4 separate regions of the Homo sapiens genome follow, and all the other regions are linked to region 3. Evidence: promoter capture Hi-C in human tissues and cell types (Jung and others, 2019). All regions are on one chromosome and are shown on one strand. Each heading gives the region's core, a stretch centred on a gene start or on the middle of the fragment in contact. The rest is flanking DNA. Distances are from core to core; before and after follow the strand shown.

Region 1 (7,248 bases), core at 3,860-6,359, 450 kb before region 3:
CCTCCAGAGTAGCTGGGATCACAGGCATGAGCCACCACGCCTGGCTACTTTTTAAATATTTTTAGTACAGACGGGGTTTTGCCATGTTGGCCAGGCTGGTCTCAAACTCCTGACCTCAGATGATCCCTCCACCTGAGTCTCCCAAAGTGCTGGGATTACAGGCATGAGCTACTGCGCCTAGTCTCATTTAGTCATTTAGTTACTTTTTGTGTGTGATTATGAGGTAGGGTCTAAGTTCTTTTTTTTTTTTTTTTTTTTGAGACGGAGTCTCGCTCTTGTTGCCCAGGCTGGAGTGCAATGGCACGTGACCTCTGCTCACTGCAACCTCTGCCTCCCGGTTTCAAGTGATTCTCCCTCAGCCTCTCAAGTAGCTGGGATTACAGGCACCTGCCACCACGCCCGGCTAATTTTTTTTTCTTTTTTGAGATGGAGTCTCTGCTCCCATCACGCACAGTGAAGTGCAGTGGCTCAGTCTTGGCTCACTGCAACCTCTGCCTCCCAGGTTCAAGTGATTCTCCTGCCTCAGCCTCCCAAGTAGCTGGGATTACAGGCATGTGCCACCAAGCCTGGCTAATTTTTGTATTTTTAGTAGAGATGGTGTTTCACCATGTTGGCCAGGCTGGTCTCGAACTTCTGACCTCAGGTGATCCACCCACCTCAGCCTCCCAAAGTGCTGGGTTTACAGGCATGAGCCACCATGCCCAGCTGGGTCTAAGTTTTAAATTATTATTATTATTTTTTTACACGTGTATATCCTATTCTTGGGAAAATTTAAAGGGAGTTATTTCTGTTTCTGGTAACGTGCGCGTTCAGTGTGTGCTCCCCTGCCTGTAATTCTCCCATTAGGGTCAGGGCAGGGCTGGAGAAGCGAAAACCATAACTAGAAGAGACTTCCCCAACAGGATGTTGCCCAACCCTGGCCGGGCTGACATTCAGCCTCGAGGGTCCTTATCGGCAGTACAATTGCAGCTGTGACCAAACCCAGCCACCCACAGCCTGACACCCCCAACATCCTTGACCTTCCCTTTAGCTTCGGGCTTGAGCAGGCCTTTGATACTCAAATAGAGAAAGGAGACAGCAAGACCCCTGTGCCTTCTCAGAGGGGGCACCCCCTTCCCCGATGCCTTCACGGGTCCTGCCTCTCCGGGACCCAGCTTCCCTCCTGGCCACCCCACCACCTCCCCAGCCACACCTCATTTCCACCCATCTAGAGAGGGTGAAACACAAACACTCCTGGCAGCCCTGCCCGAGTGTGTCCTGGGACATGGTGGGGTGGGGGCTCCCTGACTCCTGGGAAGGGGAACTCTGGGGTGGCCTGTCCTCCCAGCTCCTCACCCCACTGGTGCCTCGCCCCATGAGTCGTGTGAAAAGGCAACAAAACCAACCGCAGGGAGATATAAAATCTCTTCCTGTATCTGTGACAGCTGTTATGTTGGTCTGGCCGTCTGTTCTTCCTGTGAGCACCTGAATCCGTTCAGACCAAGCTCTTCCTCTCTCCAAGAAGCCTCTATGGCTCCCACCTCACCCAGTAAAATCCAGTCTTCCCCAAGGCCCACAAGGCTTGGCTGTGTGATTTGCCCTGTCACCTCCAGCTCTCTTCCCCTCATTCACTTGGCTCCAGCCACCCCAGCTTCCTCACTGTTCCCCAAATAAATATGCCAGGCCCAGTCCAGCCTCACAGCCTTTGCATGCGCTGTTCCCTCTGCCTGGAACACCTTTCCCCCAGATATTTTTTTATTTTTTTATTATTTTGTGTTTTTGAGACAGAGTCTTGCTCTGTTGCCCAGGCTGGAGTGCAGTGGCGCAACCTCAGCTCACCACAGCCTCTGCCTCCTGGGTTCAAGCCATTCTCCTGCCTCAGCCTCCCGAAAAGCTGGGACTACAAGTGGGCATCACCACGCCCGGCTAATTTTTGTATTTTTAGTAGAGACGGGGTTTCACCATGTTGGCCAGGCTGGTCTCGAACTCCTGACCTCAACTGATCTGCCTGCCTTGGCCTCCCAAAGTGCTGGGATTACAGGCATGAGCCACTGCGCCTGGCCCCTCTCACTCTTTTGTCTGCCTAACATACTTGCTCAGAGGTCACCTCCTCAGTGAGTACTTCCCTGACGACCCCCATATTTGAAATTTTAGCTTCCTTCCCCCAGTCCTTTCTAACCTTTCCCCTCTATTTTATTTTTCTCTATAGCACATCACCTTCTAATATTTTAATTCATGAATTTACATAGAGTGTCAGTCCCATGGGGGCAGGGGTTTTTCTGTCTTGTTCACTGCTGTATCCTCAGCACCTAAAACAGGGCCAGGGACACCACAGGTGCTCAATTAATGTTTCTCAGCCAGGTGCAGTGGCTCAGGGCTGTAATCCCAGCACTTTTGGGAGGCCAAGACGGGCACATCACCTGAGGTCAGGAGTTCGAGACCAGCCTGGCCAACACGGTGAAACCCTGTCTCTACTAAAAATACAAAAATTAGCTGGGTGTGGTGGCGCGTGCCTGTAATCCCAGCTACTAGGGAGGCTGAGGCAGGAGAATTGTGTGAACCCAGGAGGCGGAGGTTGCAGTGAGCTGAGATTGCGCTAGTGCACTCCAGCCTGGGCAACAGAGCGAGACTGTGTCTCAAAAAAATAAATAAATCAAAATAAATAAATAAATAAATGTTTCTTGAATAAATTGTCACTTTTGCCTACACTCTTTGTCTACTGAGGTCTGTAGGGCCATCCCCACCCTCATCAACAGGAGTGGCTCATGGACTCATTCTATCCTTTCTAGCCACTGTGATTGGTTCCTAAATGACATGTGACCCCAAACTGTCCAATCAGAGGGAGCCCAGGAATTATTATTTTCTTCTTTTGAAGCAGGGCTTCACTTTGTCACCCAGGTGTGAGTGCAGTGGCACGATCATGGTTCCACTGCAGCCTCAATTCCCAGGCTCGAGTGATCCTCCCTCCTTATTTTTTAATTTTTTTTTATAGAGATGAGGTTTCACTATGTTGCCCGGGCTGGTCTCAAACTCCTGGGCTCAAGCAAGCCTCCTGCCTTGGCCTCCCAAACTGCTGGGATTACAGGCATGAGCCACCACACCCAGCCAGATTACTTTGTTTGAGCCCGTGAATCCAGCTGTCCCTGAAGCCAACATATCTTAAACTTTTCAATGACACAAACCAATAAATTATCATTATTTTTTCTTTAAGCCAGTTTGGGTTTGGATTTTTTACTTGCAACTAGAATAGTCTTCCCCAATCAACCACCTCTCCCTCCCTCCCTTGCTCACTCTCTTCTTTCTTCTCTCCCTCCCTCCTTCCTCCTTTCTCTCTCTTTTTTTTTTTTTTTTTTCAGGACCAACTCTGGTCCAGGCTGGAGTGCAGTGGCATGATCTTGGCCCACTGCAACCTCTGCCTCCCAGTTCAAGCAATTCTCCTGCCTGAGCCTCCCGAGTAGCTGGGATTACAGGCACCTGCCACCATGCCTGGCTAATTTTTGTATTTTTAGTAGGGACGGAGTTTAGCCATGTTGGCCAGGCTGGTCTCAAACTCCTGACCTCAAGTGATCGGCCCACCTTAGCCTCCAAAAATGCTGACATTGCAGGCGTAAGCCAGCGCGCCTAATTTAATCTCTACTATATCTTGGCAGAGTCACTATGTCCTCCAACACAGCTGAATCAAAACCGTATTTCACCTTTCTGCCAAACAGCTCTCCACCCATCATTCCCTCCTCCGCCTTCCCCTGCCATCCCCTCCCCCACTCTGTGTGGGGGACTCTGCCCAGTATGGGAATGAATTATGGCTCCCCCACTAGAGGGCTGCGTGCCCTCGCTAAGTGACTTCACCTTTCTGGGGCCTCACTTTCCCCATCTATAAAATGAGGTCATAACAGTATACCCATTGTTCCCAAGTCTGCCTCCTCTCTAACCACGCCCTTTTTTTTTTTTTTTTTTTTTGAAACAGAGTCTCGCTCTGTCACCCAGGCTGGAGTGCAGTGGTGCGATCTTTGCTCACTGCAATCTCCACCTCCTGGGTTCATGTGATTCTTGTGTCTCAGCCTCCTGAGTAGCTGGGACTATAGGTGCCCGCCACCATGCCCAGCTAATTTCTTTTTTTCTTTCTTTCTTTCTTTTTTTTTTTTTTTTGAGATGGAGTCTCCCTCTGTGAGGCTGCCAGTGGAGTCCAGGCTGGAGTCCAGTGGCATAATCTAGGCTCACTGCAACCTCTGCCTCCCGGGTTCAAGCGATTCTCCTGCCTCAGCCTCCTGAGTAGCTGGGACTACAGGCGCATGCCACCATGCCCAGCTAATTTTTGTATTTTTAGTAGAGACAGAGTTTCACCACATTGGCTGGGATGGTCTCAAACTCCTGACCTCCTGATCCACCCACCTCGGCCTCCCGCAGTGCTAGGATTACAGGCATGAGCCACCGCGCCCGGCCTCTAATTTTCATATTTTTAGTAGATACGGGCTTTCACCATGTTGCCCGGGCTGGTCTCGAACTCCTGATGTCAAGTGATCTGCCCGCCTTAGCCTCCCAAAGTGCTGGGATTACAGGCGTGAGACACCATGTCAGTCCTCTAACCCCTTCTGACTGACCCATCACTTGAGCCTTGCTCACTTGCCCTGCTCCGGCCCTCTGGCCCCTGCTCCTGGCTCACTTGCCCTGCTCCCCCAAGTCCACTCCTTGGCCATAGAAGAAGGTCTCAACCCACCGGACCCCCACGGCCACCACAGTCAGGTCTGGAACTCTGAGGAGGCTGTTGTCATCACCCCCATTTCACAGATGAGGATACTGGGCCCTGAGTCACCCAGCCAGGATCTAAACAAGGCAATTTACATAAGAGAGGTAAAAGTGTGGCCAGGGGCAGTGGCTCATGCCTGTAATCCCAGCACTTTGGGAGGCAGAGGCAGAAGGATCTCTTGAGGCCGTAAGTTTGAGACCAGTCTGGGTAACATAACAAGACCCCATCGCTGCAAAAAACTATTTTTAAATTATCTAGATGTGGTGGTGCGTGCTTATAGTCCCAGCTACTTTGGAGGATCGCTTGAGGCCAGGAGTTCAAGGCTGTAGTGAGCTATGAGCATACCACTGCACTCCAGCCCGGGCAACAGAGTGAGACCCTGTCTCTGTAAAAACAGAGAGCAAGGGCCGGGCACAGCGGCTCATGCCTGTAATCCCAGCACTTTGGGAGGCCGAGGTGGGCAGATCACTTGAGGTCAAGAGTTCGAGACCAGCCTGGCCAACATGGTGAAACCCCATCTCCACTAAAAATATTAAAAAATTAGCCAGGTGTGGTGGTGTGCGCCTGTAATCCCAGCTACTCGGGAGGCTGAGGCCTGAGAATCATTTGAACCCAGGAGGCACAGGTTGCAGTGAGCCCAGATCATGCCACTGCACTCCAGCCTGGGTGACAGAGTGAGACTCCATCTCAAAAAAAAAAAAAAAAGAGAGAGAGAGAGAGCAAAAGAGAGATAGAAGGCCGGGCGCAGTGGCTCACGCCTGTAATCCCAGCACTTTGGGAGGCCGAGGCAGGCGGATCACGAGGTCAGGAGATGGAGACCATCCTGGCTAATACGGTGAAACCCCGTCTCTACTAAAAATACAAAAAATTAGCCGGGTGTGGTGGCGGGTGCCTGTAGTCCCAGCTACTCAGGAGGCTGAGGCAGGAGAATGGTGTGAACCTGGGAGGAGGGGCTTGCAGTGAGCAGAGATCACGCCACTGCACTCCAGCCTGGGCGACAGAGCGAGACTCCACCTGAAAAAAAAAAAAAAAAAAAAGAAGAAGTGTGATAAGCTGGAGAATTCCCAGGAAGGAGTGGTTCAGGGGAGAGAGGGTGGTCAGGGAAGGCTCCCTGGAGGAGGTGACATTTCAGGACAAAAGCTTCTCAGACACAGCACCATCAGGGGGGAAAGTAAGCCAGGCAGGGGGAACACCAGGGACAAAAGTTCTGAGTTGGGAACCAGTGCGGTGTGTTCAAAGCCCATCAAGGGGGTTAGGAGGAAGGCAGGGAGATGAGGGCTGGGAAGTGGGTGGGCCCTAATTCTTACATTACTACAAACCCAGGCAGAGGAGCAACAAGCTAGATGAGCTGCAGATGAGTGATGTCTTCTCGGTGCCCACCAGGATTTCATCTCCGAGGGCAGCCTTTATTCCCTGCTCACTCTGCCTGGCTCATCGCAGCCCTGGCCCCATTTAACAAGTGAGGAAACTGAGACTCCAGGCAGCATTCCCATGCCTGAAACCATCAGCTCCAGCTTCCCCAGGCCCTGCTACCCTCTAGGTGGCACAGAATTCTAGGAGCCCTTGGCTTACCTGGGAGGTTGACTTGGGGTCCTTAAGACCAACCCATGGCCACCTCTTCCAGGAAGTCTTCCTGCCTTGAGCTGGCTGGGAACCTCTCTCCTCTGAATCCCGCTCTTGCTTGCGGCAGGCCCGGCAAGTGTGTTCTCTGAGGGGAGACTGGTGGTTTCCGATCCTCCGGACCCCACCCAGCCCATCGTGCCCCTCCTTGCAGGGAAATTAGAAAAAGCAAAAGGGAGGAGGCACTTCTGGAAGGGAAAATATTTTGATTCTCTGAAGGCACAAAAATTGCCTGATTCCTGAACAATTAGGGGTAATTAACCCTTCACAAGGTAGTAATTAAGTCGGTGCCTCTGAAGCCTTAATTACAAGCTCCAAGAGGCTCTGCCCTCTCCCCAATAGCCAGGCAGTCCCCAGAACTGAGGCCAGGCTGTGGAGAGAGGGTGTACCCCTTCTGCACTGGCGGGGAGTCGGGGACAGGGCTCTGCTCCCCTTCTGTGGCTGCGCAAGACCCACAGCCTCTCTCGTGGCCACCCCCAGGCAGGGATCCCAAGAGCAATGTTCATGAAACCAGATCTCCTCCCTGCATAGTCCCTTTTGGGGTTGTCAGGCCACATGGGGAGACTGCTCTCGGGAGTATGAAGGCAAAGGGGGCAGGCCGGGCTGAGGTCCGTGTGTGGGGCTGGCAACTTTTTTTTTTTTTTTTTGAGGCGGAGTCTCACTCTTTCACCCAGGCTGGAGTGCAGTGGCACAATCTCAGCTCACTGCAACCTCTGCCCCCCAAGTTCAAGTGATTCTCCTGCCTCAGCCTCCCGAGTAGCTGGAATTACAGGTGCCTGCCACAACGCCCGGTTAATTTTTGTATTTTTAGTAGAGACGGGGTTTCACCATATTGGCCAGGCTAGTCTCAAACTCCTGACCTCAGGCAATCCGCCCACCTCGGCCTCCCAAAGTGCTGGGATTAC
Region 2 (7,542 bases), core at 482-2,981, 480 kb before region 3:
TGTTTTTAATTTTTTAAAATCCTGCCTCCAAGAAAGCTTTGGTTTGATTTTTTCTTTTTTAGAGACAGGATCTTGCTCTGTCACTCAGGCTGGAGTGCAGGGGCTTGATCATGGCTCACTGCAGCCTTGACCTCCCAGCCTGAAGCAATCATCCCACCTCAGCCTCCTGAGTAGCTGGGACTACAGGCGCAGGCCTCTATGCCTGGCTAATTAATTTTTTTTTTTTTGGTATTTTTTGTAGAGATGGGGTTTCACCCGCTTGCTCATGCTGGTCTCGAACCCCTGGGCTCAAACAATCTACCTGCCTTCGCCTCCCCTTTTATAGGGGTGGGGTCTTGCTATGTTGCTATGGGCTGGTCTTGAACTCCTGGCCTCAAGAGATCCTCCCGCCTCAGCCTCCCAAAGCACTGGAATTACAAGCATGATAACGTTATCACATCTCACATGTGGACAGCGGTTTCTGAATAAGTATCCTGGCCAACGTCATACACTTGGTTATCAGGATTTGGCCCAGGCAGCTGGTCCCAGAGTCAGCCCTTAATCCTCACATCACTCTGCCTCTCTGGGGTGGTGGGGTAGGTACATGTGCACCTGTCCCATCTCAGACGCCAGGCACTGACCCTACAACCAAGGCCCTGCTCTCTGGATGCTGCCAGAATGGCTCTGGTGACCCCAAACCTCATGGATGGAAAGTCAGAGGACGTGGGGTGGTTCTTACCTTGACAGGTGTTCTCGCTCTCATTCTTGAATGTTTTTGCCCCAGAAACAGGCTCATATCCCGGGCTGCACACGCAGTCGTAGCTCCCCTCTGTGTTCCAGCAGTCCGAGAATTTTCCGCATGACACTTTCGACGGTGTTGCACACTCGTTGATGTCTGGAACACAACAGGACAGGGAGTCACCTCCCAAAGATGTGAGTTCTGTCAGGGCAGAGACCCCCATCCTGACTCCCCAACATGGGGCCTGCTGCTTAGTATCTTTTGGAAAAAATCTTAAGTTGCACTGCACAGGCTATGCTGCAGCTGGAGCAAGCCATTCCTGAAGACCACACTTGATCTTAGTTCTCTGGCTGGCATCTTAGATTTGGACACAGTGAACAGTGCTGAGGTGAGGGATGGACAGGAAGCTCCACATCCCCATCCCCAGTCTCTTTGTAGAAATTTAAACCCCATGGCGGCCGGGTGCAGTGGCTCACGCCTGTAATCCCAGCATTTTGGGAGGCTGAGGCAGGTGGATCCCCTGAGGTCAGGAGTTCGAGACCAGCCTGGCCAAGATGGCAAAACCCCGTCTCTACTAAAAATACAAAAATTATCTGGGCATGGTGGTGCATGCCTGTAATCACAGCTACTTAGGAGGCTGAGTCAGGAGGATCGCTTGAACCTAGGAGGTGGAGGTTGCAGTGAGCCGAGATCGGGTCACTGCACTCCAGCCTGGGTGACAGAGTGAGACTCTGTCTCAAAAAAAAAAAAAAGGAAAAAAAAACCTCATAGCCAGAATGTACCCCCTCCCCAGTCTTAAGGGTAAACTGAGGCACAGACTCCAGATTCCTGAGCACCCAGCTTCTCTCTCTCCAGGAAGCCATGCCTATTCACTTCTTACTTCTCCCCCTTCATATTCTTCCCTTATTTCCTTCCTTCCTTCCTTCCTCCCTCCTTCCCTCCCTCCCTCTTCTTTCCCTCCCTCCCTCCCTCTCTCTCTTGTTCTTTTCTTCTCTTTTTTTTTGAGACAGAGTTTCACTCTTGTTGCCCAGGCTGGAGTGCAATGGCACGGTCTTGGCTCACTGCAACTTCCGCCTCCCGGGTTCAAGCGATTCTCCTGCCTCAGCCCCCGGAGTAGCTGGGATTACAAGCATGTGCTCATGGGCCACCACACCCGGTTAATTTTGTATTTTTAGTAGAGATGAGGTTTCTCCATGTTGGTCAGGCTGGTCTCGAACTCCCAACCTCAGGTGATCCGCCCGCCTTGGCCTCCCAAACTGCTGGGATTACAGGCGTAAGCCACCATGCCGGGCCTACTTTTCTTTCTCTTTCTCTCCTTCTCTGTCTCTCTCTTTTTTTTTTTTGAGACAAAGTCTTGCTCTGGTCGCCCAGGCCAGAGTGCAGTGGCGCAATCTCGGCTCACTGCAACATTCACCTCCCAGGTTTAAGCGATTCTCCTGCCTCAGCCTCCCGAGTAGCTGGGATTACAGGTGACCACCACCACCCCCGGCTAATTTTTTGTGTTTTTAGTATAGAGAGGAGGTTTCACCATGTTGGCCAGGCTAGTCTCGAATTCCCAACCTCAAGTGATCTGTCCACCTCGGCCTCCTGAAGTGCTGGGATTACAGGCATGACCCACCATGCCGGGCCTATCTCTCTCCCTCCCTTCCTCCCTTCCTTCCTTCCTGCCTCCTTTCCTCTCCCTCTGCCTCCCCCTCCCCTTCCCCGTCTCCCTCCTCATCCCCCTCCCCTTCCCCTCCCCTTCCCCCCTCCCTCCCCCATCCCCCTCCCCTTCCCCCTTCCCCTCCCCTTCCCCTCCCCTTCCCCCTTCCCCTCCCCCTCTCCCTCCCCATCCCCCTCCCTTTCCCCCTTCCCCTCCCCTTCTCCCTCCCCCTACCCCTCTCCCTCTTCCCCTTCCTCTCCCCCTCTCCCTCTTCCCCTTCCTCTCCCTCTCCCTGAGACACGATCTCATTCTGTTGCCCAGGCTAGAGTGCAGTGGTGCAATCATAGCTCACTGCAGCCTCAAACTCTTGGGCTCAAATAATCCTCTCCCCTCAGTCTTCTGAGTACTCCTGGCCTCAAACGATCTGCCCGCCTCAGCCTCCCAAAGTGCTGGGATTACAGGCGTGAGCCACCACGCCTGCCCTCTTTTTCTTTTCTCTGGCCATGATGATAGTCTGGAAGGTAAGGCTGTGGCCCCTCACAACAACCTCTGTCCCCCACTGGCTGGGCAATGCCTCATAATCGCGGATGTCCCCTGCGCTGCCCTCAAGCCTCTGTACCGTCACAAGTCTCCGTCGGGGTGGTGATGATCTCAGAAAAAGAGCTGAACCCTGGATTGCAGCGACAGGCGGTGGCATTGACACACGAGGAGTTCTGAGGGCACCACCGGGCACAGCCTGCAAGAGCAGGGAGCACGGTCAGAAGGTGAGGGGTAAGGGAATACACAAAAAGGGGGCACTGGGGGAGATGGGGCAGGGCGCTGAGTTTCTCGTGCGCGAGCCCTCTCTTTCCCTGGGCTGAAGGGGGCTGGGCGGGGGTCCAGGACCCTCCCCAGGCTCTGGCTGTGGACTGTGCTTTCTGCTTCCCAGCAGACTCACCCCTGGAGTCCTGGGTTTCAGCTCCCGGCAGAGTCAGCCAGACACAGAATGCTGCAACAGAGAAAGGAAAGGGGGTCAGAGGGGATCCCAGGGTGGGAAAGGAGGCGTAAGGGTGATGCACTTTGTGGGAGGAGGATGCTGACCCCTCTCAGGCTCAGATCCTGACGGTCGTTCAGAGTGAGCAGATGTCATGTCCCACTCAGATGCTCAAAGCCAAAGAGTCTGTCACCCTGTTCCCATAGGGGCGGGTTTTTTTGTTTTTGTTTTTTTTTTGACACAGGCTCCTGCTTGGTCACCCAGGCTGGAGTGCAGTGGTGCAATCATATCTCACTGCAGCCTCCAATTCCTAGGCTCAAGAGATCCTCCTGCCTCAGCCTCCCAAGTAGCTGGGACCACAGGTGTGCACTAAATTTTTTTTTCTTTTTGAGACAGAGTCTTGCTCTGTCGCCCAGGCTGAAGTGCAATGCTGTGATCTTGGCTCACTGCAATCTCTACCTCCTGGGTTCAAGTGATTCTCCTGCTTCAGCCTCCTGAGTAGCTGGGATTACAGGAGTCTGCCACCACACCCGGCTAATTTTTTGTATTTTTACTAGAGACAGGGTTTCACCATATTGGCCAGGCTGGTCTCGAACTCCTGACCTCAGGTGATCTGCCTGTCTTGGCCTCCCAAAGTGCTGGGATTACAGGCGTGAGCCACATTTCCTGACTCAAAATTTTTAAAATAAAATAATTTATCATGCCAGGCCAAAAAATTAAAAATAATTTTTTTTTTTGAAACGGAGTCTCACTCTGTCACCCAGGCTGGAGTGCAGTGGCATGATCTCAGCTCACTGCAAGCTCCGCTTCCTGGGTTCATGCCATTCTCCTGCCTCAGCCTCCCGAGTAGCTGGGACTACAGGCGTCCACCACCACACCCGGCTAATTTTTTGTATTTTTAGTAGAGATGGGGTTTCACTGTGTTAGCCAGTATGGTCTCGATCTCCTGACCTCGTGATCCACCCACCTCGGCCTCCCAAAGTGCTGGGATTACAGGCATGAGCCACTGTGGCCGGCCTAAAAATAATTCAAAAAATTATTTTACAGACAGAGTCTTGCTCTGTTGCCCAGGCTGATCTTGAACTCCTGGCCTCAAGCGATCCTCCCCGCCTCAGCCTCCCGAGCTCGGCTTGAGGGTGGAGTTTCAGGAACTGAGTAGGGAAGGGCCATGAGCCTGGTGGGGGTCTCAGCTCCAGCTGCTGCTCTTCTGACCTGGGGTGTGTGGGGAGTGGCTAAGAAAACAGACAGGAGCCAGGCATCCCCAGTTCAAATCCCAGACAGTGGGCCTCTCTGCCTCAGTTTCCCTCTGTAGAATAGGGATGATGGCGCCCACTCCCCAGTGTAGTGTGTGTGGGAGTAAACCACATGACTGCTGTCCGGTGTGCCTGAGCATTTACTGCCATCTTCATTTCTTCTTCTTTTATTTATTTATTTATTTTATTTTTTTTCTGAGACAGAGTCTCTCTCTGTCGCCCAGGCTGGAGTGCGATGGCACGATCCTGGCTCACTGCAACCTCCACCTCCCGGGTTCAAGCAATTCCTCTGCCTCAGTCTCCAGAGTATCTGGGATTACAGGCACCCGCCACCAAGCCCGGCTGATTTTTTTGTATTTTTGTAGAGACGGGGTTTCACCATGTTGGCCAGGCTGGTCTTGAACTCCCGGCCTCAAGTGATCCTCCCGCCTTGGCCTCCAAAAGTGCTGGGATTACAGGCGTGAGCCACCGTGCCCAGCCTGCCATCTTCATTTCTCTTTTTTTTTTTTTTTTTTTTTGAGACGGAGTCTTGCTCTGTCGCCCAGGCTGGAGTGCAGTGGTGCAAACTTGGCTCACTGCAAGCTCCGCCTCCCGGGTTCACACCATTCTCCTGTCTCAGCCTCTCGAGTAGCTGGGACCACAGGCTCCCGCCACCACGCCCAGCTTATTTTTTTGTATTTTTAGTAGAGACAAGGTTTCACCATGTTAGCCAGGATGGTAGTCTTGATCTCCTGACCTCATGATCCGCCCGCCTCAGCCTCCCAAAGTGCTGGAATTACAGGCGTGAGCCACCGCGCCCGGCCTCTCTTTTTTTTTTTTTTTTTTTTTTTTTTGAGATGGAGTCTTGCTCTGTTGCCCAGGATGAAGTGCAGTGGTGTGATCTCTGCTCACTGCAAGCTCCACCTCCCGGGTTCACGCCATTCTCCTGCCTCAGCCTCCAGAGTAGCTGGAACTACTGGCGCCCACCACCACGCCTGGCTAACTTTTTATATTTTTAGTAGAGAAGGGGTTTCACCATGTTAGCCAGGATGGTTTCGATCTCCTGACCTCGTGATCCACCTGCCTTGGCCTCCCAAAGTGCTGGCACAAGCCGCCAGGCCCTGCCTGCCATCTTCATTTCTTTAGGTAAAAATGAAGGCGTGGTCAGGCACAGTGGCTCATGCCTGTAATCCCAGCACTTTGGGAGGCCGAGGCGGGTGGATCACTTGAGATCGGGAGTTCGAGACCAGCCTGCCTAATATGGTGAAACCCCCTCTCTACTGAAAATACAAAAAATTAGCTGGGCGTGGTGGTGGGTGCCTGTTATCCCAGCTACTTGGGAGACTGAGGCTTGAGAATCGCTTGAACTAAGGAGGCAGAGTTGCAGCAAGCCAAGATCACGCCACTGCACTCCAGCCTGAGTGACAGAGCAAGACTCCGTCTCAGAAAAAAAAAAAAAAAAATGACGGTGTTGGATCACCCAGGCTCTGAGATGCCCTGGACCTCCACGCTTCCTCAGGGACACAGGTGCACACACACCACACCCACAACTGCCACTGGCCCTGGCGGTCTGTCCTGGAACCCAGTGGTGATATTTCACCCCCGGGCCCCCCTCCCACAGGAAGACGCTGTAGCCGCCTGTTGGGGTGCACGTGGAGTGGCGGTTCCCAGCACTCAGGGGGTTCCCCCTCCCAAGGCATGTTCTGGGGGACCCTCCTCAGGTCACCAGGGGATTCAGAGATGGGGACCTAGGGATCTCCTTGCTGTTCACCAGAGAGATAGAGACAAAGAAGCAGGGGTGGAGAGAAAATAGAGATTAGAGAGAGAGAGAGACAGACAGAGAGAGAGAAAGAGTCAGAAAGAAAGAGAGACACAGAAAGAGAGACAGAGACACAAAGAGACAGAGAGACAGAAGGTGGGGGGCTGTGCTTGGTGGTTCACGCCTGTAATCCCAGCACTTTGGGAGGCCGAGGCAGATGGATCACCTGAGGCCAGGAGTGTGAGACCAGCCTGGCCAACATAGTGAAACCCCATCTCTACTAAAAATACAAAAAATTAGCCGGGCATGGTGGCACACGCCTGTAATCCCAGCTATTTGGGAGGTGGAGGCAGGAGAATCGCTTGAACACAGAAGGCAGAGGTTGCAGTGAGCTGAGATCCCGCCACTGCACGCCAGCCTGGGCAACAGAGCAAGACTCTCAAAAAAAAAAAAAAAAAAAAAAGAGCAAGAGTCTCAAAAAAAAAAAAAAGAAAGAAAAGAAAAGAACAAAGAGAGAGAGAGACAGAGAGATAGAGGGACAGAGACGGAGACAGAGAGGAGAAAGGAGACAAGCTGGAGAGAGAGAGGGAGACAGAGAGGAGAAAGAAGACAGCTAGAGAAATATAAGACAGAGGAGACAGAGACACGGAGAGATAGAGACAGACAGAGAGACAGAAATTACATGGTGATAGAGAGAGGTGGAGAGAGAAACAAGGGGCCCATAAAGAGCAGAAGGGGAAACAGGAGGAGATGGGACAGAGAGAACAGAGAGACAGAGAGATAAACAGTGAGGAAGAAAGAAAACCATGAGAAAGGAGGGTGGATGGAAACAGAGGGGAAGGGCAGGGGAACGGAGGGCGTTGGGATATGAGCGGCAGGTGGGGCCTGGGGCGGGCTGGGAGGGGACGTCCAGTCCCTGCCGATCTGGGAATACTGGGGACCCCAATAATCCAGGGAGACCTGAAGGGGGGTGTCGGGCAGAGGGATGGGGACCAGGACAACGGCTGGGCATGAGTCACTTCCTGGGCCTAAGGGAAGGAATGACTCACCACTCATTTGCCCCAATTCAACCCTGGAGGGGCTTCCAGGGGAATTTTGGGGTCTGTTATGAGCACAGCTTCAGAGGGCGGGTGTTTGGGGTGCAGATTGGAGGTCCCCGGACCACTCAGCCACTGTGTTCAAATTTAGTACCCCTTAGGTGGGTGGAAGGCAGAGATC
Region 3 (7,650 bases), core at 955-3,454:
GGAGACCAAGGTGGGGGGATCACCTGAGGTCAGCAGTTCGAGACTAGCCTGGCCAACATGGTGAAATCCCATCACTACTAAAAATACAAAAATTAGGCCGGGCACGGTGGCTCACGCCTGTAACCCCAGCACTTTGGGAGGCCGAGGCAGGCGGGTCACCTGAGATGGGGAGTTCGAGACAGACCAGCCTGACCAACAGGGAGAAACCCCGTCTCTACTAAAAAATACAAAATTAACCAGGCATGGTGGCGCATGCCTGTAATCCCAGCTACTCGGGAGGCTGAGGCAGGAGAATCGCTTGAACCCGGGAAGCGGAGGTTGCAGTGGGCCGAGATTGCGCCACTGCACTCCAGCCTGGGGCGAGAGAGCAAGACTCTGTCTCAAAAACAAACAAACAAAAAAAGAACCCCTAACCACAATGCAGGTTTGCCATGCAGACCCGTCTTCCTATCTTGGCTAATGACCAATCATGATGTGATAACATCGTGTTTAACCATATGAAATTGCCTTTCCTGTAGGTAAAAAATGGCCAAATATTGGCAATTATGTATGGTTCCACCAACTAGTAATAATGATAATAGTAACATTTATTGAGTGCTATGTTCTAGCACTTTCCATAAACTATCTCAATGACTCTCTACAACTGTCCTGTAATGTAGGGTCTCTTGGAGGTCTCCATTTTTAATTTTTTATTTATTTATTTATTTTCAGAAGGAATTTATTTATTTATTTTGAGAAGGAGCCTTGCTCTGTCACCCAGTCTGGAATGCAGTGGCGCGATCTCAGCTCACTGCAACCTCCGCCTCTCGGTTCAAGCGATTCTCCCACCTCAGCCTCCCGAGTAGCTGGGATTACAGGTGCCCGCCACCATGCCCAGCTAATTTTTGTATTTTTAGTAGAGATGGGGTTTCGCCATGGCCTCCCAAAGTGCTGGGATTACAGGTGTGAGACACCACCCCGGACTTCCATTTTTAATTTTTTATCTTTATTTTAGAGAAAGAGTCTTGTTCTGTCACCCAGGCTGGAGCAGAAGTAGCGCAATCATAGCTCACTGCGGTCTTGAACTCCTGGGCTCAAGCAATCCTCCCTTCTTAGCCTCCCAAGTAGTAGTACTACAGGCACATGCCACCATGCCCAGTTAGTCTTTTTTTGTCGAGACGGGGGTCTTGCTTTTGCCCAGGCTGGTCTCAAACTCTGGCCTCAAATGACTCTCCCACCTCTGCCTCCGCCTCCATCTCCTGAAGTGCTGGGATTATAGAGATCTCCATTTTACAGATGAGAAAGCTGAGGCTCAGAGCTGTAAAGTCAAGTGTCCGATGTACAGAGGCCAGGAGGGAACTTCAGGTCAGCCAGACTCTAATATCTGAACACCAAGCTATGTCCTGGGCTCCTTCCATCAAAACTGAGAAAAATCAAACTATCTGGTGCCTGGGGCAAAGAAGTCGGGAGAGTGAGAAGGGGTCCAGCCACAGTGCCATAAGCTTATGGCTGCAGCCCTGGATTTGTGCTTAGCCCTGGCCAAGCTGTTAATCCCTATGACCTTGGGCAGATGTCTTCACGTCTCTGAGTCTCAAAGTCCTCATCTGTACAATGGAATAAAAAGAGTCTGACATGGCCCGACTGATGCAAGGGTTTGATGTGTCAAGTCCGAGGACTGCCCCTCCTCGACTGGAGCAGCTGTGGCAACAGGTGGCCCCGAACCCGGGGCAGGGCCCCAGGAGCTGGGGAGCCAAGGCCAGTAGGCCACACTTGGGTGGTGTTGGAGCCTCACCTGGGGGGAGGCGGGGACCGGGGCTTACCTGTGGGGCGGAGATCGGGCTTCCCTGGGGGGTGGGGCCCTTCCCTGAGCGAGTGACGGGGGTGGGGAGGGATCCCCAGGTCGGGCCGTGGGGCGCAAACTCACCTGGCGGGCGGCCGCGGCGCCTCTGCCCGGGGGTCCCGGGGGTCCTTTCCTCTTGTGCATCTTCAAGGCTGGATGCCCGGACCACCTGCCCCCAAGCCCGGCCTTGCCCTGCCTCCTTCCCCGGGCTCTGTCGCCGCGCACTCGCCCTTCCTGAGTCCTGCACTCCTCGTCGGCGCCCCGCGGCCGTCGATCCCGAGCCCTCGCTTCCCTGCTTGGCCGTCCCACTTCCGCCTCGGGCCTCGGGCGCCGCCGCACCGGAGCGCGGCCACTGGGCTCGCCGGGTCTGCCGAGCCGAAACTACAACTCCCGGCAGGTAGTGCGTGGGCGCGCAGGCGCCTGGCTGGGGCGGTGCTGACTGTCGCGGGCTGCGAGGGCGGTGTTTGCGTCGCTCATGCGCGGGGCGGGACCTCGCGGGGCGCGGGAAAGAGGCAGAGCGCGCGCAGGTGTGAGGGGCGGCGACATCTGTGGGGTTCAGAGCGTCTGTCAGTCACCGACGGGCTCCGGCTTCACGTGGGCTCTCGGCCTGTGGAGTCCTCACTTCTCGGTGGTCGGCGTAGTGTCAGTGTGGGGCTTGTCACCGGGAGCGGGGTCTACAGCGCCCACCCTCAGGCCTTTCCATCTTTCACCTCCGGACTCGAGGCCTCCAGCGTTCTGTGAGGGCCAATTTGGCCATTTATTTTTTCCAAAAAGAGTAACGCGGATAATTCAAGCGACTTATTCCCAACTGATCCAGGCAGAGCTCGTTTCTGATAAGGACAGAGGGTCCTCAACGACTTCTGTGGCCCAGGTCCGTTCTGGTTTGCCTCGCCCCCAAGGCTGGGAGAAACCGGCCTATGGCAGCTCTTTCCCCTCCAAGGACCCAGCTGTCCCCTTTAAAGTGGCACGATCTTGGCTCATTGCAACCTCTGCCTCCTGGCCTTGTACCACAGCCTCCTGAGTAGCTGGGATTACGGGTGTGTGCCACCGCACCTGACTAATTTTTTTTTTTTTTTTTGAGACGGAGTCTCGCTCTGTCGCCCAGGCTGGAGTGCAGTAGAGCGATCTCGGCTCACTGCAACCTCTGCCTCATGGGTTCAAGGAATTCTACTGTCTCAGCCTCCCAAGTAGCTGGGATTACAGGTGTGCGTCACGATGCCCAGGCTAATTTTTGTGTTTTTAATAGAGAGGGGGTTTCACCATATTGGCCAGGCTGGTCTCCAGAGGCCCCTGGAGAGTCCTCAAGTGTCCTTGGAAGGGCCCCCAGATACCCCAGTCTGGAGGGAGGGGCTTCACACAGGCTGTTTCATCCTAGGGACCAGAGTCTGGGTCCCCGGGGCTATCTATAAGGACCCCCCAGGGCCCATTTGTCTTTCAGGTCCTGGGCATAAGATCTTCAGTTTGGAGGAGGTTTGAATTCCTACCTGGCCATGGCCCAAAGTGGCTGTGACTCTGTGTCCCATCCTGTGTCCCAGTGGGAGCCATCTGACCCCTGGGGCAGCCAAATGGGCTGAGGTGGAGGTAGGGGTAACCTCTGCTCTCAGCCAAAGCCACTGGATATAAACAGAGACAGAGACTGCTTATAATGATGAGAGATTTTGCTTGTTTTCAGATTTCTCAAGGGGAAGATAAAATGACTAAGAGGAAGAAGCTGCGGACCTCAGGTACGTTCATTCAAATGGACACTTGTTGATTTCTGCTTCTGCTTGTGGGAAGAATGTGGGCTTGTTTATTGCAGATCTGGCTAACACGACTGCCTTAACCTCCTTAAAAGGAAGCAAGGATTGGCCGGGTGCGGTGGCTCACACCTGTAATCTCAGCACTTTGGGAGGCCGAGGCGGGCAGATCACAAGGTCAGGAGTTCAAGACCAGCCTGACCAACATGGTGAAACCCCGTCTCTACTAAAAATACAAAAATTAGCCAGGTGTTGTGGCACATGCCTGTAGTCCCACCTACTCGGGAGACTGAGGCAGGAGAATCGTTTGAACCTGGGAGTCCGATGTTGCAGTGAGCCAAGATGGTGCCACTGCACTCTAGCCTGGGCAACAGAGCAAGACTCTGTCTCAAAAAAAAGAAAAAGACAAAAAGGATTTAATTCATGCTGGTAAGAAAAATAGAAGGCCGGTGTGGTGGCTCACGCCTGTAATCCTAGCACTTTGGGAGGCCGAGGTGGGCGGATCGCTTGAGTCCAGGAGTTCAAGACCAGCCTGGGCAACATAGCGAGATCCTGTCTCTACAATGTAAAGTAAGGAAATTAGCTGGGCGTGGTGGCAGGCACCTGTAGTCCCAGCTACTCAGGAGGTTGAGGCAGGAAGATTGCTTGAACTGGGAGGTGGAGGTTGCAGTGAATCCAGATCGTACCACTGCACTCCATCCTGACTGATAGATTGAGGCCCTGTCTCAAAAAAAAAAAGAAAGAAAGAAAAATAGAAATAACGGAGAGGGCATACAGGAAAAGTAAAAGTGAAAGTTTTCTGGAGCTTCTGCAAGCCTCTGGTGGGGTCCCACAGCTTAGAGGAGGCCTCCCCGGGCTTCAGGGCAGCGGGACAGCCTCCCTGCGGAACCAGTCCCAGAGATGACCCCTGGAATAATGCTTGATGTACTACAAGGCCACTCGGTATGTGGCTGAGTGTTTTACTCTGGGGCCCAAAACCTGGGTTCATCCCAGTTCTGCTCAGTGTGTGGTGGTGGATGATTTCCTCTGTGCCACAGTTTCCCCTTTTGTAAATTGGGGATAATAAAAGCCACTACCCTTTCCTTTAGAGCAGTGTTTCTCAACTAGGTGAGAGGAAGGGATTTTGACCTCCAGAGACAGCTGGCAATGTTTGGAGACTTTATTTTTTTTTTTTTTGGAGACCAAGTCTGACTCTGTCGTCCAGGCTGGAGTGCAGTAGCAAGATCTTGGCTCACTGCAGCCTCCACCTCCTGGGTTCAAGCGATTCTGCAGCCTCAGCCTCCTAAGTAGCTGGGACTACAGATGTGCACCACCACGCCCGCCTAATTTTTGTATTTTTAGTAGGGATAGGGTTTCACAATGTTGGCCAGGCTGGTCTCAAACTCCTGACCTCAGGTGATCTGCCTGCCTCAGCCTCCCAAAGTGCTGGGATTACAGGTGGGAGCCACCGTGCCCGGCCTAGAGACTTTTTTTGGTTTTCATAACTGGGGAAATTATACTGACATCTAGTGGGTGGAGGCCAGGGATGCTGCTCAAATATCCTACCATGCATAGGATGCCCCCCAGCCACAGAGAATGATCCAGCCCCAAATGTCCTCCAAGGTGAAGAATCCTGCCCTTAGAGCTCACATGTGGATTAGTATCTGTAAAGCACCCAGAACTGACCTAAGGTAGTACACAAATGTACACTGCTGTTAACAATTCTTCTTCCAGACTTTTAAGAAAACTTTTATTTTGAAGTAATCTGGGACTTAAAGAAAAGTTGCAAAAATAATTCAGAGAGTTCTAGCTACCCTTCTCCAAGCTTTCCCTAATGTTGACATCTAGCATAGCCATAGGACAGTGATCAACTGTAGAACAGCATGAAAAACAGGACAGGACTCTAACCTCGGTACACTGCTTCTAGACTTTTTTTTTTTTTTTTGAGACGGAGTTTCGCTCTTGTTGCCCAGGCTGGAGTGCAGTGGCGCGATCTCGGCTTACTGCAACCTCCACCTCCCAAGTTCAGGCGATTCTCCTGCCTCAGCCTCCCAAGTAGCTGGGATTACAGGCACCCACCACCATGCTGAGCTAATTTTTGTATTTTTTTAGTAGAGTCAGGGTTTGGTCAGGCTGGTCTTGAACTCCCAACCTCAGGTGATCTGCCCGTCTTGGTGTCCCAAAGTGCTGGGGATACAGGAGTAGGCCACCGCGCCCAGCCCAGACTTTTTTGTTTTTGTTTTTGAGACAGAGTCTTGATCTTGTTGCCCAGGCTGGCGCGATCTCGGCTCACCGCAACCTCTGCCTCCTAGATTCAAGCAATTCTCCTGCCTCAGCCTCCCAAGTAACTGAGATTACAGGCATATGCCACCATGCCCAGCTAATTTTTTTGTATTTTTAGTAGAGATGGGGTTTCTCCATGTTGGTCAGGCTGGTCTCGAACTCCCAACCTCAGGTGATCCGCCCATCTCGGCCTCCCAAAGTGCTGGGATTACAGGCATGAGCCAGCGCGCCCAGCTCAGACTTTTTTTTAAGATGATGTCTCACTCTGTTGCCCAGACTGGAGTGCAGTGGCACGATCTTGACTCACTGCAGCCTCCGCCTCCTGGTTTCAAGCGATTCTCTTGCATCAGCCTCCTGAGTAGCTGGGATTACAGGTGTCTGCCACCACGCTCAGATAATTTTTGTATTTGTAGTAGAGATGGGGTTTCACCATGTTGCCCAGGCTGATCTTGAACTCCTGGCCTCACATGATCTGCCCGCCTCAGCCAAAGTGCTGGGATTACTGGAGTGAGCCACCATACCCAGCTTTTTTTTTTTTCTTTTTTTCGAGACAGAGTCTTGCTTTGTCGCCCAGGCTGGAGAGCAGTGGCACAATCATAGCTCGCTGCAGCCTCGACCTCCCCAGGCTCAGGTGATCTTCCCACCTCAGCCTCCGGAATAGCTGGGACTACAGGTGTGTGCCACCATGACTGGCTAATTTTTGTATTTTTTGGAAGAGACGAGGCCTCACTATGTTGCCCAGGCTGGTCTTGAACTTCTGGGCTCCAGCAGTCCACCTGCCTTGGCCTCCCAATGTGCTCAGAATTACAGGCATGAGCCACCATGCCTGGTCAGACTTTTTCTGTATATATACAGATACAGTGTTGAGCTTTTTTCTTTTTTTTTTTTTTGGAGACAGTCTCACTCTGTCACCCAGGCTGGAGTGCAGTGGCACGATTTTGGTTCACTGTAACCTCTGCCTCCTGGGTTCAAGTGATGCTCATGCCTCAGCCTCCTGAGTAGCTGGGATTACAGGTACCTGCCACCATGCCTGGCAAATTTTTGCATTTTTAGTAGAGACGGGGTTTCACCATGTTGGCTAGGCTGCTCTCTAACTCCTGACTTCAAGTTATCCGCCTGCCTCAGCCTCCCAAAGATTACAGGCATGAGCCACCGTGCCTGGCCCAGATAAAATGTTTTTATTGGAAAATCGAATCATCACACTTACTGATCTGCAACCTCCATTTTTCACTTTGTGGTAGATCATGACCATGTTTACTTGTCAACATACCTATACAATTTCATCATTTGAAAAGAAAAACACCCCAAAATAGCCAGGCTTGGTGGTACGCACCTGTACTCCAGGCTACTTGGGAGGCCGAGGTGAAAGGATTGCCTGAGACCAGGAGTTCATGACCAGCCTGAGCAACATAATGTTACCCAGTCTCTAAAAAAAAAAAAAAATTTTAATTAACCAGTGTGGTGGTGCCTACCTGTAGTCCTGGCTACTTGGGAGATTGAGGCAGGAGGATGGCTTGAGCTGAGGAGTTCCAGGCTGCAGTGAGCTATGATTGCGCCTGCACTCCAGCCTGGGCCACAGAACAAAACCCTGTCTCTTAGAAAAAAAGAAAGATTGTTGGGCACGATGGCTCATGCCTGTAATCTGAGCACTTTGGGAGGCCGAGGCAGGTGGATGGATCATTTGAGGTCAGGGTTCGAGACCAACCTGGTCAACATGGTGAAACCCCATCTGTACTAAAAACACAAAAATTAGCCGGGCATGGTGGCATGTGTCTGTAATCCCAGCTACTTGGGAGGCTGAGACACGAGACTCGCTTGAGCCCAGGAGAGCTG
Region 4 (7,055 bases), core at 464-2,963, 490 kb after region 3:
AAGAACTGAGTCAATAGGCGATTTTGTCATTGTGTGGACATCATGTAGAGAACTTAACACAAACCTAGATGGTATAAACTACTGCACACCTCAGTTATGGGGCATACCCTATTGCACCTAGGCTGCAAACCTGCACAGCAGGTTACTGTCTTGAATACTGTAGGCAGTTGTAACACAATGGTAAGTATTTGTGTATCTAAACATATCTAGGCCGGGCACGGTGGCTCACGCCTGTAATTCCAGATCACCTGAGGTCAGGAGTTCGAGCCCAGCCTGGCCAACATGGCGAAACTCCTTCTTTACTGAAAAATGCAAAAATTAGCCAGGTGTGGTGGCAGGCACCTGTAATCCCAGCTATTCGGGAGGCTGAGGCAGGAGAATCGCTTGAACCTGGGAGGTGGAGGTTGCAGTGAGCTGAGATCATGCCACTGCACTCCAGCCTGGGTGACAGAGCAAAACTCCATCTCAAAAAAATAAAAAATAAAAAACATATCTAAACAGAAAAGGTACAGTAAAAATACAGTTATAACCATATGGGACCACCATTGTATAGGCAGTCCGCTGTTGATCAAAACATATCAAAACATCGTTATGTAGCACATGACTGTACCATAAACCACACGGCTTCAAACAAGGGAAATGTATTCTCTCACTGTTTTGGAGGCCATAGGTCTGAAATCGAGGTGTCACCAGGGTCCCTCCAAAGGATCCGGGGGAGGATCCTTCCATTGGATTTGGAGTTGCTTCACTCCAGTCTCTGCCTCAGTGGTGACAGGGCGTTCTCCTCTTCCCTCTCAAAGTTCCCTCTTCTGCTGTGTCATAAGGATACATATGACTGCATTTAGGCCCCACTCAGAAAATCCAGGAATAAACTCTTGCCCTCATATTCTTAACTAAATCGTACCTGCATACCTTATTTTTTCTAAATAAGGTAGCATTCCAGGGATTAGGACATCAACATAACTTCTGGAGGGTTCACTGTTCAACCCACTACAGCCAGAATGCGCTTTGAATTCAGGTTCTGACATCTGGGACTGCCTCCCACGTACACACACCACTACCTTGTACTGAATGCCTGAAGGGTTCTGCCCCCACCTCCACTCCCCCAAATATTTGCTGTGGACCTGAGAAAGCTGACTTCATGGAAGCTTCATTCCATTGTTCTAAGGACTTTTCATACATTAACAAATGTCTTCTCTCTATGGGGAAAACCACAGAGAAATCAAGACAGAGTGGGGTTAAGTAACTCACCTGAGGAGGAACAGTAAGTGGCAGAGCCAGGATTCAAACCAACATGGTTTTGCACAGTTTTGACATCATTTGCAACACAAATATTGTCACAGATACCTTTTTGAGCATCTACTGTGCTAACCGCCAGGAAGGAAAAGAACATGGGGCCGGGAGAGCTCTTGACAGGGGACAGGGCTGGCCATGGAGGTCTGTGTCTTGGTGGAAGATGCTATGGTTCTCTTTTTTTTTTTTTTTTTTTGAGATGGAGTCTTGCTCTGTCACCCAGGCTGGAGTGCAGTAGTGCAATCTTAGCTCACAGCAACCTCCACCTCCCGGGTTCAAGCGATTCTCCTGCCTCAGCCTCCCAAATATCTGGGATTATAGGCACACACCACCACGCCCAGCTAATTTTTGTATTTTTAGTAGAGATGGGGTTTCACCATGTGGGCCAGGCTGGTCTCGATCTCCTGACCTTGTTGTGATCCACCCGCCTCGGTCTCCCAAAGTGCTGGGATTACAGGCATGAGCCACCACACTGGGCAACTATGGTTCTCTTTTAACTCCTTGTGCTGAAATTATTGCAGAAGCCCAGGCCAGTTCATCCCCAGAAAGTGAGGCATAAACAGGCAGAGCTCTACAGAAACAGAGAATCCACGACTGGTTTGATGGAGGCTGCCTCACTACCTACAGAATGGGCTCTGGGTGGATTGTTCTATCTGGGGAGCCAGCCCACCCACCAGTCTCAGCCCTTGGCGACTCTTTCCTGCTGTCACAGCAGCTGGACATTCAGAAACCGAAACATGACAGCCTTCCCTCCCTGTTCCTGCCCAGTGGAGTGGAAACCCCTCGGGACCCACATACCGAGCGTGCACAGCAGCACAGAGTTGCACAGTTAACACAGCGCTTCTTCTCCAGCCCTCCGGATGCAAGCTGACAGATTGGCAGCTGGCTGACTTCCAAGGTCCAGTGAGTTCTTGGCAGTCGCTTTCTGACCTGGACGAGTGGCTGCCACCTCCTGGAACATCAGGCTGCCCCCTTGGGGAGAGGGTGACGGTCTCTCTGGAAAGACTGTGAGCTTTGAGGTGGTCATCAAAAGCCATTCTTGGAAACATTCTTTGAGCTGTACCGTGCAATTCGGTCACCAATTGCACGTATTTGGATATTAATATCCGTATGTGGATATTAAATTGGTTTTGGGTTTTGTTTTGTTTTGATTGTGGCAAAATATACACAACAATCCTCCTGCCTCAGCCTCCCAAGTAGCTACAGGCATGCACCACCATACCCAGCTAATTTTTGGATTTTTTAAATTTGTTTGTTTGTTTTTGTTTTTTGAGATGGAGTGTAGCACTGTTGCCTGGGCTGGAGTGCAGTGGCGCGATCTCAGCTCACTGCCACCTCCGCCTCCTGGATTCAAGTGATTCTCTTGCCTCAGCCTCCTGAGTAGCTGGGATTACAGGCGCCCGCCAACACGCCCAGCTAATTTTTTGTATTTTTAGTAGAGATGAGGTTTTACCATGTCGGCCAGGCTTGTCTCGAACTCCTGACCTTGTGATCCACCCGCCTCAGCCTCCCAAAGTGCTGGGATTACAGGTGTGAGCCACCGCGCCCGGCCGATTTTTGTAGTTTTAGTAGAGACAGGGTTTCACCATGTTGGCTAGGCTGGTCCCGAATTCCTGATCTCAGGTGATCCACCGCCTCGGCCTCCCGAAGTGCTAGGATTACAGGCATGAGCCACCGCACACAGCCTAAATGCTGTGCCTCACGCCTGTAATCCCAACACTTTGGTAAGCTGAGGCCAGAGGATTGCTTGAGCCCAGGAGTTTGAGACCAGCCTGGGCAACATAGGAAGACCCCATCTCTATAAAAAATAAAAATAAATTAGCCAGGCGTGGTGGTGCAGGCCTGTGGTCCCAGCTACTCGGGAGGATGAGGCAGGAGGATCGCTTGAGCCCAAGAGGTCAAGGCTGCAGTGAGCTGTGATTGTGCCACTGCACTCCAGCATGGGTGAAAGAGCAAGACCTTGTCTCAAAAAAAATTAAGCGAAATTTAAAATTCTGTTTCTCACTCACACAGGCTGCACTTCAAGTGCTTAATCATCCCTTGTGGGTGGTGGCTATCATATTGGACAGCATGGATAGAGAATATTTTTATCAGCGTAGGAAGCTTCATCAGAGAGGACCGCTCAGAGGCCTGTGGGGACCAGCACAGTGCAGTAGAAGACACAGGCCAGCTGGTGAGAGACTGGTCTTCTGATCCCAGATCTGTCCCTCACTTGCTAGGTGACCTTGGACAGCTCCCTCAGTCCCTCTGGAGTTTTCTCTTCATTGTTAAATCAGGAAATTGGCCTCAGTGAATTCTGAGGCCCCATCTACTTTTTTTTTTTTTTTTTTTTTTTTTTTTTTAATTGAGACAGAGTCTCGCTCTGTTGACCAGGCTGGAGTGCAGTGGCATGATCTTGGCTCACTGTAACCTCCGCCTCCCAGGTTCAAGCAATTCTCTGCCTCATCCTCCCCAGTAGCTGGGACTACAGGCGTGCACCACCATGCCTGGGTAATTTTTGTGTTTTCAGTAGAGACCGGGTTTTGCCATGTTGGCCAGGCTGGTCTCAAACTCCCAACCTTGAGTGATCCTCCCGCCTCGGCCTCCCAAAGTGCTGGGATTACAGGTGTGAGCCACCACGCCTGGCCTCATCTAGTTCTAAATGTTATGACCCACTCAGCTCTGAAGACAAGGGAGGAACATCCTCTCAGTCTAGCTCTGACATGCAGAAGCCTCTCACCCTGTCCCCCAGGTCATAAAGGCAGGCGTGTTGTGAAGAGCACAGAATGGGCTGAGAAAAATATGCAGGGATTGCGTCTATCTCCCTTCCTTCCGCACGTTTCCTTGTCGGCACCACCTGCCTCTATTCCGCGCCGCACACACACCCGCCTTCTCTCTGTCTCGGAGGAAGACAGGATCTTCCATCCCCCAAATCCTGCCCTGATTCCTACTCTGAAGCCTCTGCCCTGACTCCTTTAAGCTCCCTGGGAATACAGCCCATCTCCTATGCCCTCCTCATCCCAGTAGTTCCTACCTTCCCCAAAATCGCTTTGGGAAAGTCCCCCAATGAGTAACCAGCTGTCCTACATGGGCATCTCAGAACTTCTCTTCTGTTGTTGTTGTTGTTTGTTTTGCTTTTGTTTTGAGACAGGATCTCTCTTTTTCACCCAGGCTCGAGTGCAGAGGTGTGATCTCAGCTCACTGTAGCCTTGACCTCCCAGGCTCAGGCGATCCTCCCCCCTCAGCCTCTGGAATAGCTGGGACTACAGGCACACGCCACCACACCCGGGCAAATTTTTTTTAGGACTTTTGGTAGAAATGGAGTTTCGCCGTGTTGCCCAGGCTGGTCTCTAACTCCTGGGCTCAAGCGATCCGCCCACTTTGGTCTCTCAAAGTGCTGGGACTACAGACATGAGCCACCACACCCGGCAGAGCTTCTATTTCTTGAGTGTGTTCTCAGCCATGCTAAGACATTTTCTCTTCTCAGCCTGATGATGCTTTTGGCTTGTGTTTCTTTGTTTTTAATTACCCCTTCCCAGTCGCTGTCATGGGATCATGAGGGTCTTCTGTCCATCTAGATGACACCTTTCTTGTGCCACGTGTCTCCAACATTCCCTGGTTTTTAAACCCTTATTGCTTTCAAGATACTATCCAAGCTCCTTAATGTGGCACATTGTCCTTCGCTGCTATCTGCCTGCTTTTTTTTTGAGACAGAGCCTCGCTCTATTGCCTAGGCTGGAGTGCAGTGGCGCAATCACAGCTTACTCTGCAGCCTCGACTTCTTGGGCTCAAGCAATCCTCCTGCCTCAGCCTTCTGAGTAGCTGGGACCACAGGCATGCACCATCATGCTTGGCTAATTTATTTTTATTTATTTTTATAGAGAAGGAGTCTCCCTATGTTGCCCAGGCTGGTCTCAAACTCCCGGACTCAAAGTTCATTGCAGTTTCAATTTTTTCCTTGGCTCAAGGATCCTCCCACTTCAGCCTCCTGAGTAGCTGGGACTACAGACGGGCACCAACACACCTGGCTAATTTTTGTATTTTTTGTAGAGATGGGGTCCCACTATGTTGCCCAGGCTTCTATCTGCTTTTATCTCACCTTCCACTCTTCCATCCTTCCTTTCTTTTCTTTTATTTCCTTTCCCTTCCCTTGCCTTCCTTTTCTTTCTTTCTTTCTTTCTTTCTTTCTTTCTTTCTTTCTTTCTTTCTTTTTCTTTCTTTCTTTCTTGACAGAGTCTGGCTCTGTCACCCAGACTGAAGTGCAATGGCAAGATCTTAGCTCACTGCAACCTCCACCTCCTGGGTTCAAGCAATTCTCCTGTCTCAGCCTCCCGAGTAGCTGAGATTACAGGTACCTGGCACCACACCCGGCAATTTTTTTTTTTTTTTTAGTAGAGACGGGGTTTCGCTATGTTGGCCGGGCTGGTCTTGAACTCCTGACCTCAGGTGATCCTCCCACCTCAGCCTCCCAAAGTGTTGGGATTAACAGGTGTGAGCCACTGTGCCTGGCCTTTTTTTTTTTTTTTTTTTTTTTTAAGACAGGACCTTGCTCTGTCACTCAGGCCAGAGTGCAGTGGCACTATAATCACTTTCTGCAGCCGTGACCTCCTGGGCTCAAGGGATCCTCTTGCCTTGGCCTCCCTAGTAGCTGGGACTACAGGCATGTGCCACCACACTGGCTAATTTTTAAAACTTTTTGTAGGCCGGGCACGGTGGCTCACACCTGTAATCCCAGCACTTTGGGAGGCCAAGGCGGGCGGATCACGAGGTCAGGAGATTGAGACCATCCTGGCTAACACAGTGAAACCCCATCTCTACTGAAAATACAAAAAATTAGCCAGGTATGGTGGCGGGCGCCTGTAGTCCCAGCTACTCGGGAGGCTGAGGCAGGAGAATGGTGTGAACCTGGGAGGCGGAGCTTGCAGTGAGCTGAGATCACGCCACTGCACTCCAGCCTGGGCGACAGAGCGCGAGACACCATCTAAAAAAAAAACAAAAAAAAAAAACAAAAAACTTTTTGTAGAGATGGATTCTTGCTAGGTTGCCCAGGCTGGTCTCAAGCTTCTAGGCTCAAGCAGTCCTCTTGCCTGTGCCTCCCAAAGCCTTGGGATTACAGGCGTGAGCCCCCACACCTGGTCCTAACCCACTTTCTGAACTTCCAACCACACCATTTTGTCCTAATATTTAAGTCACACCATAACATGTCCCACTTCAGAAATGCCTACCAAAGTAGTCTTCAAATCTTTTTAAATCAGTGGACCCTTTCTACCAAACAAATGTTATTTTTTAAATATTTATTTTAGAGTAATTTAGACTTTTAGAAAGGTTGTAGCTGGGCGCAGTGGCTAACGCCTGTAATCCCAGCACTTTGGGAGGCCGAGACAGGTAGATCACCTGAGGTTGGGCGTTTGAGACCAGCCTGGGCAACATGGTGAAACCCCGTCTCTACTGAAAATACGAAATTAGTCAGGTATGGTGGCACGCGCCTGTAGTCTCAGCTACTCGGGAGGCTGAGGCAGGAGAATTGCTTGAACCCAGGAGGCGGAGGTTGCAGTGAGCTGAGATCGCGCCACTGCACTCCAGCCTGGGTGACAGAGTGAGACTCCATCTCAAAAAAAAAAAAGAAAAGAAAAAAAAGAAAGGTTATAAATATATTATAAAGAGTTCCCACATACCCTTCACCCAGTTTCTCCTGTTGTTTGTATCTTATATTATCACCATATGCTTGTCAATGCTAAGGAATTGCTGGGTGCAGAGTGGCACATGGCTGCAGTCCCAGATAC

What was found. The method cuts DNA at HindIII sites, captures the fragments that hold promoters and counts their contacts. A contact is called where the count stands out against the background at its distance.
Region 1: a contact is called between a fragment that was not itself captured here and the fragment with the promoter of CC2D1A in region 3, in 1 of the 25 tissues and cell types used here (lymphoblastoid cells).
Region 2: a fragment that was not itself captured here is called in contact with the fragment with the promoter of CC2D1A in region 3 in 1 of the 25 tissues and cell types used here (dorsolateral prefrontal cortex).
Region 4: a contact is called between a fragment that was not itself captured here and the fragment with the promoter of CC2D1A in region 3, in 2 of the 25 tissues and cell types used here (dorsolateral prefrontal cortex and lymphoblastoid cells).

The regions. Positions count from the first base shown.
Region 1 is chr19:14,350,152-14,357,399 of GRCh38, reverse strand. All of the region lies in intron 1 of LINC01841 (long intergenic non-protein coding RNA 1841), which reads left to right. Among named protein-coding and RNA genes, the nearest start is that of LINC01841, 10 kb to the left of the region's middle. RefSeq lists enhancers at 1,042-1,091, 1,162-1,341, 1,402-1,501, 6,408-6,907, 6,908-7,248. The HindIII fragment of the contact is 8,577 bases long and covers 821-7,248 here.
Region 2 is chr19:14,384,256-14,391,797 of GRCh38, reverse strand. ADGRE5 (adhesion G protein-coupled receptor E5) reads right to left here. Exons shown (of 20, transcript NM_078481.4): 2 at 3,298-3,348; 3 at 2,980-3,096; 4 at 719-874. Among named protein-coding and RNA genes, the nearest start is that of ADGRE5, 6.6 kb to the right of the region's middle. The HindIII fragment of the contact is 6,584 bases long and covers 1-5,023 here.
Region 3 is chr19:13,900,755-13,908,404 of GRCh38, reverse strand. It overlaps CC2D1A (coiled-coil and C2 domain containing 1A), which reads right to left and starts at 2,204. Exons shown (of 29, transcript NM_017721.5): 1 at 1,904-2,204. The coding sequence starts at 1,963. BRME1 (break repair meiotic recombinase recruitment factor 1) reads left to right here and starts at 2,288. Exons shown (of 9, transcript NM_001345843.2): 1 at 2,288-2,690; 2 at 3,492-3,543. The coding sequence starts at 3,513. RefSeq lists a silencer at 1,830-1,889. The HindIII fragment of the contact is 13,583 bases long and covers 1-7,650 here.
Region 4 is chr19:13,412,324-13,419,378 of GRCh38, reverse strand. All of the region lies in intron 3 of CACNA1A (calcium voltage-gated channel subunit alpha1 A), which reads left to right. Among named protein-coding and RNA genes, the nearest start is that of CACNA1A, 91 kb to the left of the region's middle. The HindIII fragment of the contact is 6,305 bases long and covers 1-4,865 here.